Linked DNA regions of Homo sapiens: region 1 is linked to region 2. The links are contacts of gene promoters, found by promoter capture Hi-C in blood cells and fetal thymus (Javierre and others, 2016). All regions are on one chromosome and are shown on one strand. The core of a region is centred on a gene start or on the middle of the fragment in contact, and the rest is flanking DNA. Distances in the headings are between cores, read along the strand shown. Region 1 overlaps IPO13 (importin 13). Region 2 holds the start of KDM4A-AS1 (KDM4A antisense RNA 1).

Region 1 (5,985 bases), core at 3,124-5,623, 250 kb after region 2:
ACTCTGTCACCCAGGCTGGTGTGCAGTGGCACAATCTCGGCTCACTGCAACCTCCGCCTCCCGGGTTCAAGCGATTCTCTTGCCTCAGCCTCCAGAATAGCTGGGATTACAGGCGTGCATCACCACGCCCAGCTAATTTTTGTATTTTTAGTAGAAACGGGGTTTTGCCATGTTGGTCAGGCTGGTCTTGAACTCCTAACCTCAGGTGATCCATCTGCCTCCGCCTCCCAAAGTGCTGGGATTACAGGTATGAGCCACCATGCCTGGCCAACTGTTCATTTTTTTAAAGAGAAACATAGTTACTATTAAATGGATTAAGGCTGTTTACTTTTAGTACTGGTCATAAGAAGTAGAACTGGAATCATGCAATAGAAAGTGGGCCTAGTTGTTCAGTGGCTAAATTTGAAAAGGAGTTGGTTTCCTATATATATATGTGTGTGTATACATACATATATTTATATGTATATGATACACACACACACATAGATAATGTGCTTAATCACTGCCTTTTGAAACTTTAAATAAAATATTGGGTTGATTTTAAAAAATAAAAGATTGTTTCGGTATGAGGATTAAATAAGAGAATGTGAAGCTTTTAGCATGGTTCCTATATACTCTGTAAACGGCAGTTGCCAGTATTTGGTTTCATTATTGTGTTGGGAGTTATTATGATACTTATCCCCTGGCTTCCCAGGCTTTCCAGCTTAAGGTGGATACCTAATCCCAGATCTCTTGGCAGCCTGAAGCTCAAGTGCTGGGTGGGCTCTGACAGTTGGTGACTAAGGGAAACAGATCAGGGCAAGTGTGTGGGTGATGTGAGGTGTCCTTGGATACACCCAAGTTTACCCGCCCAGCCAGTCTCAAGGGCTTTGGCAGGTAATTGATGCCCCTTCTCCTCTGAACGAATGAGCGAGCAAGGAGCCAGTGAGGTAACCCACAGCCTCCTTGGTGCCCATTGGCTGCAGCCCCTTGGTTGCTTAGCAACTCTCCCCATTTTCTCAGCTCTGCTCCTGAAGCAAAGCTCTAATTGCAGGTCTGGGCTGAGCTCCGTGTGAGCAGCAGCAGAGGAGTCCCAGCAGCCCTGCCTCGGCTACTTGAACTGACCGATTGGAGCCAGGCCTCTTGAACCCAGCCTCAGCTGTGGTCATAAAGACATCCTCCCTGTCTCCTTCCCCCAAACCTAGAAACCTCTGGGACCTCAGACTTGTTCTTCTGTCCACTCACAGGTCGCAGACACAGGTGCTCAGGTGGTAGGAAATTTATGCAAGAACTTCTTCCCATGGGTGAGCTGCATCCAGCCCAGAATCCGAGCCTGGCCCTTGCTCTCCCCAGTCTAATTTCCCAGCTTTGGCTTGTGAAAGTCACCTTCAGTGACTTTGACTCCTGGGTCATCCAGGCACGCCTTCCCCAGGTGTCCTGACATTGGCCCTCCCCTTGGCTGAGCTTGCACTCAAGTCACCCTTTTCCTGCCCCTCCACAGCTGCTGCTGCTTCCTGGCTCTCTCCTTTGAAATGTATTTTTTTTTCCTGAACTATGTTTTTAATGCTGGAAAAGCTTGTCCTTGGGAGTTGGGGATGGAGGGAAAGTGAATTAGGCAGGCTCTTGGGGGCTCCCATCAGTTAGGACTGGAGATATGGGCTGAGACGTACATAAATCCTTTGGGGAAATTCTGGTTGGGCCCTGAAAGAAAAGCAGACCTGTAGCAGTTTAAGGGGCAGTTTCAACCTGGATTCTGCTTCTAAGTTGTTGTATGACCTTGAGTGATATGATACTCTGAGCTCTTTGAGGCTGTATTATCCTTGATTTGTCCTATTTTGAGGCTCAGATGAGACAAATGAAGAACATTTGCCGAGTACCCTGCCATCTGCATGAACTTTGGCAGGTGGAGGAAGGAGTCTTAGAATACAGTGGGGAGCTATGGGAGTAGAGCGCTACCTCCTGCACCCATCTCAGCTGCTGAGGAGCTTGTGGGCCATAGCCTTGGCCCTGCCCCTTCTCTTTGTGCCAGAGTCTGGCCTGAAAATGCCCATTGTCTGGTGGTGCAGCCCGTGTCAGGGTCAGGAGACTGAAGCTATCCCGGCTGTCTCCAGGCAGCACCCCCTGGGGCTGTCTCTGGGCTGGGGATATCCTGGCATGGGTGACTTTTCCTACCAGAATGGGGATGTGGAGAAGGAGGCCGATGTCCCTAGGCTGGTTGCCTCTTTTTGTCCTTCTCATCCTCCCACCAAGGATATGAGGCTACTGCCTAGCAACCTGCTTGGGGCAAGTCCAGATAGAACTCCCTCTGGGATCCTCAGTCCCCAACTCCCTAACATAGATTGCTATGGTGACACTATGATTGACAACAGAGGGGTCCCAAGCATCTGATCCCCGCTATTAGAGTGTGGCTTCCTCTGCTTAGTCTCATCTCCACAGACCAAGGTGCTGGAGAGGGATCCAGTGGGCTGAGCCAGGCTTCTCTCAGTCCCCTTTGTATACTGGGCTGTCTGTCCTTCTCCTTTAGAGATCATTGTGTTTCAGGGCTGTGATCTGGACCCTCTTATTTTTTTCTCATTCAACACTTTCTCCTTGGGCAATTCTCATCTATTCCCATAACTTCAATTACCAGCTGTTAGCTGATGACTCTCAAATCTATGGCTTTTGCTCTAACCTCTATGCTGGGCTTCAGGCTTTTATATCCAACTCTTTCTAGATGCTTCTGCCTGCATAACCTATCAGGTGTCTCTGAATCAACTTGTCTAAGACTGAGCTTATCACCTTCCACCTCCCATTAAAGGTGTTACTGTTCCCCGCTACTCACCCCACAGGTCTCAGTAAATAGCTCCACCGTCTACTTAGTTGTTTAGCCAGTGACCTGAGAGGTGTCTTTATTCTTCTCCTTCCTCATATCCAGTCAGTCATCAAGTCCTGTCTGTTTTGCCTCTTAGCTCTCTCTGAGTTCATTGTCTACTTCTCTTCCTCCCTGCTGCCACCACACTCCTCAAGAGTTGGGATTTGGTGGTAGAGGGTGGAGCGGATGGCAGGGATTGATGCTCTCATGAGCTGTTGCTGCCTTCCAAAGTCTTTTTTTTTTTTTTAAATCAGGGCTTATGAGCCTGTGTTTACTCTTCTGTATCCCACTCTTGTTCAATCACCCCTGACAGACTGTATTAGTTTCCTAGGGCTACCATAACATAGTACCACAAACTAGGTGGCTTTAAAGCCAAACAGAAATTAACTGTCTCACAATTGTGAAGGATAGAAGTCTGAAATCAAGGTGTTGGCAAGGCTGTGCTCCCTCTGAAACCTGTAGGAGACTCCGTCCTTGCCTCTTCCTAGCTCTGTGGTTTGCTGGCGGTCTTCAGTGTTCCCTGGCTTCCAGCTGGATCACTCCACTCTCTACTTTCATCCTCACGTGGCATTCTCCCTGTATGTCTCTGTCTTCACATAGATATCTTCTTATAAGGACACCAGTCATATTGGAGTTCAGGTCCATCCTACTCCAGTATAACCTCATCTGCAATTATCTTATTTCCAAATAAGATCACATTTTGAGGTACTGGGGATTAAGATTTATCAAAAAATGTATCTTTTTGTGGGGACTTAATTTGACCCATGACAGTCTGCCCTCTGGTGCCCCAAACTTCATGTTATCCCCACATGCAAAATATATTCACTTCATCTCAATCTCCCCAAAAGTTGTAACCTAGCTGGATGTGGTGGCTCCACCTGTAATCCCAGCTACTCTGGAGGCTGAGCAGGAGGCTGAGTCTCTTGAGCTCAGGAGTTCGAGACCAGCCTGGGTAACACAGCAAAACCCCATCTCAAAAAAAAAAAAAAAAAAAAAATCTTAACCCATTCCGGAATCAGCTCTCAGTCCAACTGGAGAACACAATTCAACCCATAATGCTGACCTTCTCATACGTCCTTCTCAGAGTTCTTCTGGGGGTCCCTGATCTAAGGTTCTTCCCAACATTGGGAACATCAAATCTGCCATGTAGACCCTGACCCTTTTTTTGCTTAGGATTTGATAAGGGAAGGGGAGCTTTGATGGAAGACAAGGAGATTATGCCTTTCTCTTAAAGCCAGTGTGGGGTTGAGCAGAGAGCTCTGATGGATTTTCTCACCTCATGCCTCTAGGTACGTGAACACACTCCTGAAACTCATCCCGCTGGTGCTGGGTCTGCAGGAACAACTGCGGCAGGCAGTGCAGAATGGGGACATGGAGACCTCCCATGGCATCTGTCGCATCGCTGTGGCCCTGGGCGAGAACCACTCCCGGTAAAGGGTGGAGCAGCTTGGGGTGGGATAGTAGGGCCCTCTAAGAAATGGGGTTCTGGAAGTCCCTGGAAAGGTAGAATGACCTGACTCTCTCCCCAGGGCCTTGCTGGACCAAGTAGAGCACTGGCAGAGTTTCCTGGCACTCGTCAACATGATTATGTTCTGCACAGGCATCCCTGGCCACTATCCTGTCAATGAGACCACCAGCTCCCTAACCCTCACCTTCTGGTACACACTGCAGGTGTGTCTGTGTGACCTCCAGTAGGACTGGGCTGTGGTGGAAGAAGGTGGATCATGGGCTTCTATGACTGCTGGTGAGGTGGCTAATTCTCTTCCCTGGCTCTCTCAGGATGATATTCTATCCTTTGAGGCAGAGAAGCAGGCTGTATACCAGCAGGTGTACCGGCCAGTCTACTTCCAGCTGGTGGATGTGCTTCTGCACAAGGCCCAGTTCCCTTCTGATGAGGAATATGGATTCTGGTCCTCAGACGAGAAGGAGCAGTTCCGAATTTACAGGTGATGGTAGCAGGCCAACTCCTCTAAAATGGAGTCCAGAAATAATGAAGGCAATGAGGGAAGGGGCCCAAGTCCAGGCTTTCTGAATTTTGGTGCTCCTTTCTGTTTTCTAGGTATTGTTGCAGAGTTGTGGGGGTACTGGGGTAGGCTCCTGGGCTTGGGGGCAGGATCCAGGGTCAGGATCCAGGCAGTATAAAAGGCCTTCATCTGCTTCTCAGGGTGGACATCTCAGACACGCTCATGTATGTCTATGAGATGTTGGGGGCCGAGCTGCTCAGCAACCTCTATGACAAGCTGGGTCGTTTGCTCACCAGCTCAGAGGAGCCCTACTCCTGGCAGGTACCTCCCAAGCCTGATTCCCTCAGCCTTCCCAGACCTGTCACACCCTCCTCCTCATCCAAGCCAGTGGCACCCTCTTTCCCCAGCACACAGAGGCCCTCCTCTACGGCTTCCAATCCATCGCAGAGACCATTGACGTCAACTATTCTGATGTGGTGCCTGGGCTCATTGGCCTCATCCCACGGATCAGCATCAGCAACGTGCAGCTGGCAGACACTGTCATGTTCACCATTGGTGAGACCTGGCACACACCCATGACCATATTCCCAGAGCCACAGCACCCAACCCTGGCCACAGCCAGCATGCTGGATCCTATCCAGAATGGGAGAGCCACATGCCTACACACAATCAGTGTTGTAACAAACTGACTGTCCTGGCAGGTCTAGGGGGTCCATCTGATGGCACACTGAGCTGCAATTCAGTGAGGCTAGTTTACCGTCAGTGAAACAGCAGTACTGGGCCTCTGTTGAGTAACCCCTTCCTGCTTCTCAGCTGTAAGGCTCATGTTTGAGCATGCACATGCATATGTCCTCTGAATGGGGCAGTACTCTGTGCTGGGGCTGCAACTTGACCCTGCCAGGAACTCTGCTTGCCTCAGAGACATGGTACAAAGCCAGCCTGGCCTGCCTCAAAGATCCTCCTGTCTCCCTCCTTCCTCCAGGAGCTCTGTCTGAATGGCTGGCTGACCACCCCGTCATGATCAACAGTGTTCTGCCCTTGGTACTGCATGCCCTAGGCAATCCTGAGCTGTCTGTCTCTTCTGTGTCCACCCTCAAGAAGATCTGCCGAGAGTGCAAGTATGACCTGCCTCCCTATGCTGCCAACATTGTGGCTGTGTCCCAGGTATGCAGGGGCCCTGGATGGTGCTGG
Region 2 (5,503 bases), core at 2,602-5,101:
CCCAGAGAGCTGCCTTGCTCTCTAAAACAGTTACTTTGTCCTGGTTCACTCTTCCCTGAGTAGAGGACAGTTACCTTTGTGTGCAGGTGGACGTTCCTTTCACCCTCCTTCCTTCCTGTTTCCTCAGAGCCAGGACTGTCTCCAGTTTGGTCCTCCTGCTGAAGGGGAAGTGGTCCAAGTGAGATGGACAGACGGCCAAGTCTATGGAGCCAAGTTTGTGGCCTCCCACCCTATCCAAATGTACCAGGTATCCAAAGTTCTACCTTTCTAGGGAGTGGGGGGTGCTTGATTAATTCTGTGCTTCCTGTTGGGCCAGAGGCGAGTCTTTGCTCTTAGGAGAACTAATAGGTTGGTAACCCTTTCAGAGCTAGGGGTCTGCCCTGTTTCCAGTCTGCCAAATGTGAAGTAAGGTAGTTGTTATTTTAGTGTTCTAACTCCTTCCTTTGACTGTAGGGGACTGCCACTGTGCATGGTGGACCAGGGAAAGAGTCAGGGATATCCTAGCCAAAAGGCCTTTGTTTCCTTGGTAGGTGGAGTTTGAGGATGGCTCACAACTTGTGGTTAAGAGAGATGATGTATACACACTGGATGAAGAGCTTCCCAAGAGAGTCAAATCTAGACTGGTGAGTATTTTCTGTGTCCCCCCAGTTCCTGTCTTGGAGGGAGGGAACAAGTCAAGGATGCATCCCTTTGTATTGTTCCTGGGGTAGCTGACACTTGGCTTGCTTATTCTTCTATAGTCAGTAGCCTCAGACATGCGCTTCAATGAGATTTTCACAGAGAAAGAGGTTAAGCAAGAAAAGAAACGGCAACGAGTTATCAACTCAAGATACCGGGAAGATTATATTGAGCCTGCACTATACCGGGCCATCATGGAGTAGGTGCTTCCAGGGTCCAAGGGATTCTCAGCCATCCAGGCAAGAGCACTCTGGGTTCCACAGCACAGCAGACATGGAACGCTGAAGTCTCTGAAAGTGAAGTTGTAAAAAGAAAAGGAATGAAATAACCGACCCATCATCTTCTCACCCACCCTCATTGCATTCCGCTGTAGTGAAAGGACGAGCCATTTCTGGGCACGTGGCAGCAGTCGCTGATCTCCCAGCTGAGGGGCTGAGCACTGGAATGCTGTGGCTGCACTGGCCCCAGTCCATAGAGGGGTCAACTATGCTGGCTGGACTGGCTGCCTTGTTCCTGGCCTAGGACTTAGCTTCATAACTATCACCTGCACCGACTAGGCTGAGGTGCTGGTACTTGCCCCAACCCCTACTTTTGTATTTATATGTGTGTGTGTGTGTGCGTGCGTGCGTGCGTGCGTGTATGTTTGGTCTGGACCAGCTTCTGCCAGCCCCTGGCCTTTACTTTCTTCCTTGCCTATGCAGGGCAAACAAAATGTGAAATTCTGCCCTCAGCTGAGCTGAGTAAGGGCTCCTGGGGGTTGGCTGGAGATGGGTGTGGCATCTGTCCAGGCCTGGAACCGTCTCAAGACAGTGCTGGCAAAGCTGCAGTATTGAGATGCTAAGGAGCTGATGCCACCTCTTTGTCTTCCCCTAAAGGAGAACATGGGGATAACATGGGTGTGTGCCCACAACACTCTAGGTGCAGAGCCCCTGTGGCAAAGTATTACAGGGTGTGGGTGGGGATTACCCTGAATCGGGGATTTTAATGATGGAAGCAGGCAGAGCCTGGTGGGTGATTCTGTCAACAGAAAATTGCAATCATGCAGGGGCTGGGAGGGTTAGGATGAAAAAACTGGGGCCATTGGAGGCCCACTGTAGGTGGGAGGGAGCTGATTTTGGGGTGGGGGGTGGGACTAGAGGGCAATACTGAAGGGGTTAAACAGGTTTTTGCTCCTCAAGAATTTGTTTGCCTGGGCCCAGGATTGGAGGGCTTCACACCAATACCCTGTGTATACAAGAATCAGATTTATAATACTTCCCCTTTTTTGTTACGTATGAACACTATAAACCAAATTATTTTGAAAACTGGTGCATCACCTTGTCCTTAGCAATAAAATGTGTTGAGCAGAGGATTGGCTGTCTGCCCCAAGGAGCCCACGTGGCCCACGTCAGGCTGGGGGGTGTATCTAGAGTCATAGGCTCTGGAGCGGGGCTGTGTATTTTAAGACAAATCAGTAAGGCATTCCCTAGGAAGTTCCAGAGAGTGGGTCCTTTGCTTGTCAAGCTCTGTATTAGGCCAAGTATGGTGGGTCATGGGAGCAGGGACACTTCTGGCTCTGAGCACCTCTTTGTTGTGCTTGCTCTGCCTTAGAGACGGGCAAGATGAGGTAACAGAGGAAGCACCAGACCAATGAGTCCTCTCAACAGAGTATCTCTCACTGCTGCCCCATTTGATACATCTTTGTTGAACTGGCCTAAGTTCATGCCAGCATCTGTGCTCTATACAAATTGTGGAACCAGTGGGAAGGATGGGTGCATTTTAGGTGCTTGAAAAGCAAGGGACTCAACCTCCAGTGGGATCCTCAGATTGCTCTCCGAGCTGTCTAGTTGGTGAGAAGCTTCCCTGGAGGAAGACCCAATCTCCTTTGGCTGGTAGATCCCTGAGGTCAAAGTGGACAAGGATGGGGAACCACAGAGCAGGGAGGGGGGCAATGAATAGGTGCAGGACTTGGGTGCCCCGGAGCTGCACCGGCTGGCCCTTAAACAGCCAGGCACTTCCTGTGGCATGGCCCTGTCCAGGTGCAGGAGAGGCTTAGGTCAGTTCAGCTGCTCTGGATGCTTCCTTGTGTCCCTGGGGGTTGAGAGGTGGTTGCTACTTGGTATCTCATTGTGGAGAAAGGGAGGTGCAGGAGGTGATCTTTTCTATGTCAGCTCCCTCCTGGGGCCCAGGGAGGGAAGTTGGCCTTTTTTTTTCTTTGCCCACACTCCACTTGGGGATTCCCAGGGGATGTAGCAAGGGAGGCTGGGCAGAACCAGGCCTTAGTGGATTGGTGAGAGAACACTAATCCATACATCTTTGGAAGAGAGGAACACTTCACCAGCCTTTTTACACAGGATCCCTACCTTTCTCGATGACCCCACTGCCTCCAGGGGTGGGCGCTGGGTTTAATCCCAGCAGTTTTTACTCAACAGCTGACCAGTTTTCCAGAAACTGCACTTTTTTTTTTTGGTCAACCTAATAACTCTTAGGAAACTGCAACTCAGGTGATCCAAATCACACAGACCGGCCCGTTCTCTCCCCTACTGGCTGCCTATGCAGTCGGGTCGACCTCAAGAGAACTGGCCCCAGCCAAAAGCGGCACCTCCCGGCCTGCCAGTCCCTTCCTGCCTTAGGCAGCTCCTCCCAGAAGCCTTTTTGTAGGGCAAACTGCCTTCCCTTTGTAAGGTAGGGCCTTTGGATCCAAGGTTGCAGTTTAAAGACCACCCCGACTTTGTTGAGGAATTAAGTTTTAAATTCCGCCCCAGGCGGATAACACCAGGGCTCAGCCGCAGGAATGAAAAAGGAGTGGGAGGGCTGCAAAGTGTACGTGGGGCTTGGAGGCCTTGTGCCACGCGCGGACTAAAAATGTTCTACGAGTCTCTTAACGCTCACCCCCGTGCCCCCTTACCCACCAGGGCCCACGGAGGTCCGAAGCTTTCGGCCTCAGTGAGCGGAATGGGTGCGCTCACGACCTGGAGGGCGAGATGAGATGTCCCTCGGCGTGAAGTGGCCGTGACTACCCTAGCACTTTGCGTTCCCCGCGCGGGCGACGAAACACGCTCTCGAGGGGAGAGAGCCGTGCGTCCTCTGGGCCGTGAAGCCAGGGGAAGAGGGTTCCTCTAGACAGCTCGATGTGCCCGGGAGAGACACCCACGCTGAACCTGCAAGCTGGGGTGCTCCACCAGCGCGAACCTCTCGCCCCGCACTCGCCGCAGCACTGCTCTCGTGGTAGGCGGGGTGGGCGGGACGGCAAATCCGCGGCTCCTGCGTCTATTGGGCTGCTCGGGGCAGCGCAGCTCCGCATTGGCCAGGCCCTCGCTCCGCCCGGCTTCCGCGAGCCCATTGGTCGCAGGCGCCCGACCGGGTCGCGGCCGCGCGCTCCGCCCGCCGCTGCGTCCCCACTATGGCGGCGCCCATGCAGCCCAGCGCGTTGTGGGCTCCCGCCGGGGTCCCCCGCGGCTGTCGCCGCCGCCTACGCCGCTGCCTCCGCCTTCCTGCCCCGCGTCGGGCCGGGCGCCACCTCCCCCCTGCCTCCCTCTCCGCTGTGGTAAGGGCCTGCCCAGTGCGCTTCGGGGCGCGATGGCTGACCGCGAATAACGGTCGCCGCTCCGCCCCGCCCCTCCCCCGCCGGCCGCGGGTCCCGGGCTGGGCGGGGCGCGGAGCCCGCGCGCTAGTGCCCGGGAAGGCGGGGTCGGGGCACGGCCCAGTCGTCCTTCGGGCTGGGGGCCCAGTACCTGGATGACCTCTCCTGGGTGGGGGCCGCCGAGCCTGGGGGAAAGGCCGGCCGGACGCAGGCCAGGAGGTCTGAGATCATCTCCGTGTGAAACCCCGCAGCGCTGCGCACCTTGGCGCAGAGCACGGACACCGTCATTCGGGCCCTGCTGTGGGAAAAGGAAAGAAAAGTCCAGGGAGCGCCTGAGCGGGAATCGGCAGCGTTTGGGTAGCGGTTGTCATTGCTTACTGCTCTAGCGGGGGCCAGAACTGGGGTCAGTTTGATCGGCAAAGTACGCCTCTCTTGCTTCCTTTCCTTCTGGCACTTTCCCCCGTTGTGTCCTCGGTGCTTTTGCTTGCAAGAGAAAATATCTTAGTGAGGAGGGCAGGTTTGGTTAGGAGAGTGTCCCATGAACATTTTGGATTCCTTTTTACAACAATGTCCATTTTTATGATTCCTCAGTAAGCCTCATTTATGTTTCCTTCACGTATGAGGAAGGAGTGAAACCTGATAACTGAATGTAATTAATTGAGGGAAGGACCAGTGAAGGCGGCTATTACCTCAGAAAGTAAAATACTCAAACTTTTCAGTGGATGTACTGTGAATTATAGATAGCTGGACATTAAGGTAGGAAAAAACTCTTATTAGGTTACTAAAAGTAAGATAGTCCCCATGACAAATTAGGTTGTTTCTAAGGCAGAATTATCTTGTAGAGATGATCACTGAAATGTTTGGTGTACTTTCAAGTCAACAGAGGATTAAAAGGAAGCTGGCACAGAAATTTATAGCCAAATGATACTTTCAAATAATCTCTTAAGGCAATACAGCTCCTCCTATGATTAGAGATTCTTAAGGATATTTTGAGATATTAAGTGGTGAATCTCTCCATTTCGCGTGTCTAACTGTCTAACCATGGTTTAATAAAAATAAAATGTTAACGATGAAACAAGACATTCATGTTCTCAGAGACTAACAGACTTTGTATCAATCAATGGAACGCCTCTTGAGTACATATTTTATGCAAGGCATTGACTGAGGGGAAACTCAAAACCATTTAAGATAAGAAACTTGCTCTAATGGGCCTATAATATACTTGAGGGAATAAAGCACACACATGACAATGATAACTGTGAT

The links. Contacts are between HindIII fragments. The CHiCAGO score rates a contact against its expected background, and 5 or more counts as called.
Region 1: a contact is called between a fragment that was not itself captured here and the fragment with the promoter of KDM4A-AS1 in region 2, in 7 of 17 cell types (endothelial precursors, monocytes, M1 macrophages and 4 more). The highest score is 9.7, in endothelial precursors.

Annotation. Positions count from the first base shown.
Region 1 is chr1:43,952,201-43,958,185 of GRCh38, forward strand. IPO13 (importin 13) reads left to right here. Exons shown (of 20, transcript NM_014652.4): 3 at 4,120-4,260; 4 at 4,360-4,501; 5 at 4,610-4,776; 6 at 4,995-5,115; 7 at 5,202-5,349; 8 at 5,777-5,958. Among named protein-coding and RNA genes, the nearest start is that of IPO13, 8.2 kb to the left of the region's middle. The HindIII fragment of the contact is 5,643 bases long and covers 1,553-5,985 here.
Region 2 is chr1:43,703,490-43,708,992 of GRCh38, forward strand. It overlaps KDM4A-AS1 (KDM4A antisense RNA 1), which reads right to left and starts at 3,852. Exons shown (of 5, transcript NR_033827.1): 1 at 3,570-3,852; 2 at 864-968; 3 at 75-158. It overlaps ST3GAL3 (ST3 beta-galactoside alpha-2,3-sialyltransferase 3), which reads left to right and starts at 4,047. Exons shown (of 12, transcript NM_006279.5): 1 at 4,047-4,204. KDM4A (lysine demethylase 4A) reads left to right here. Exons shown (of 22, transcript NM_014663.3): 20 at 128-247; 21 at 531-623; 22 at 741-2,029. The coding sequence ends at 881. RefSeq lists enhancers at 3,482-3,999, 3,725-3,804 and silencers at 3,935-4,434, 4,465-4,514. The HindIII fragment of the contact is 3,706 bases long and covers 3,590-5,503 here.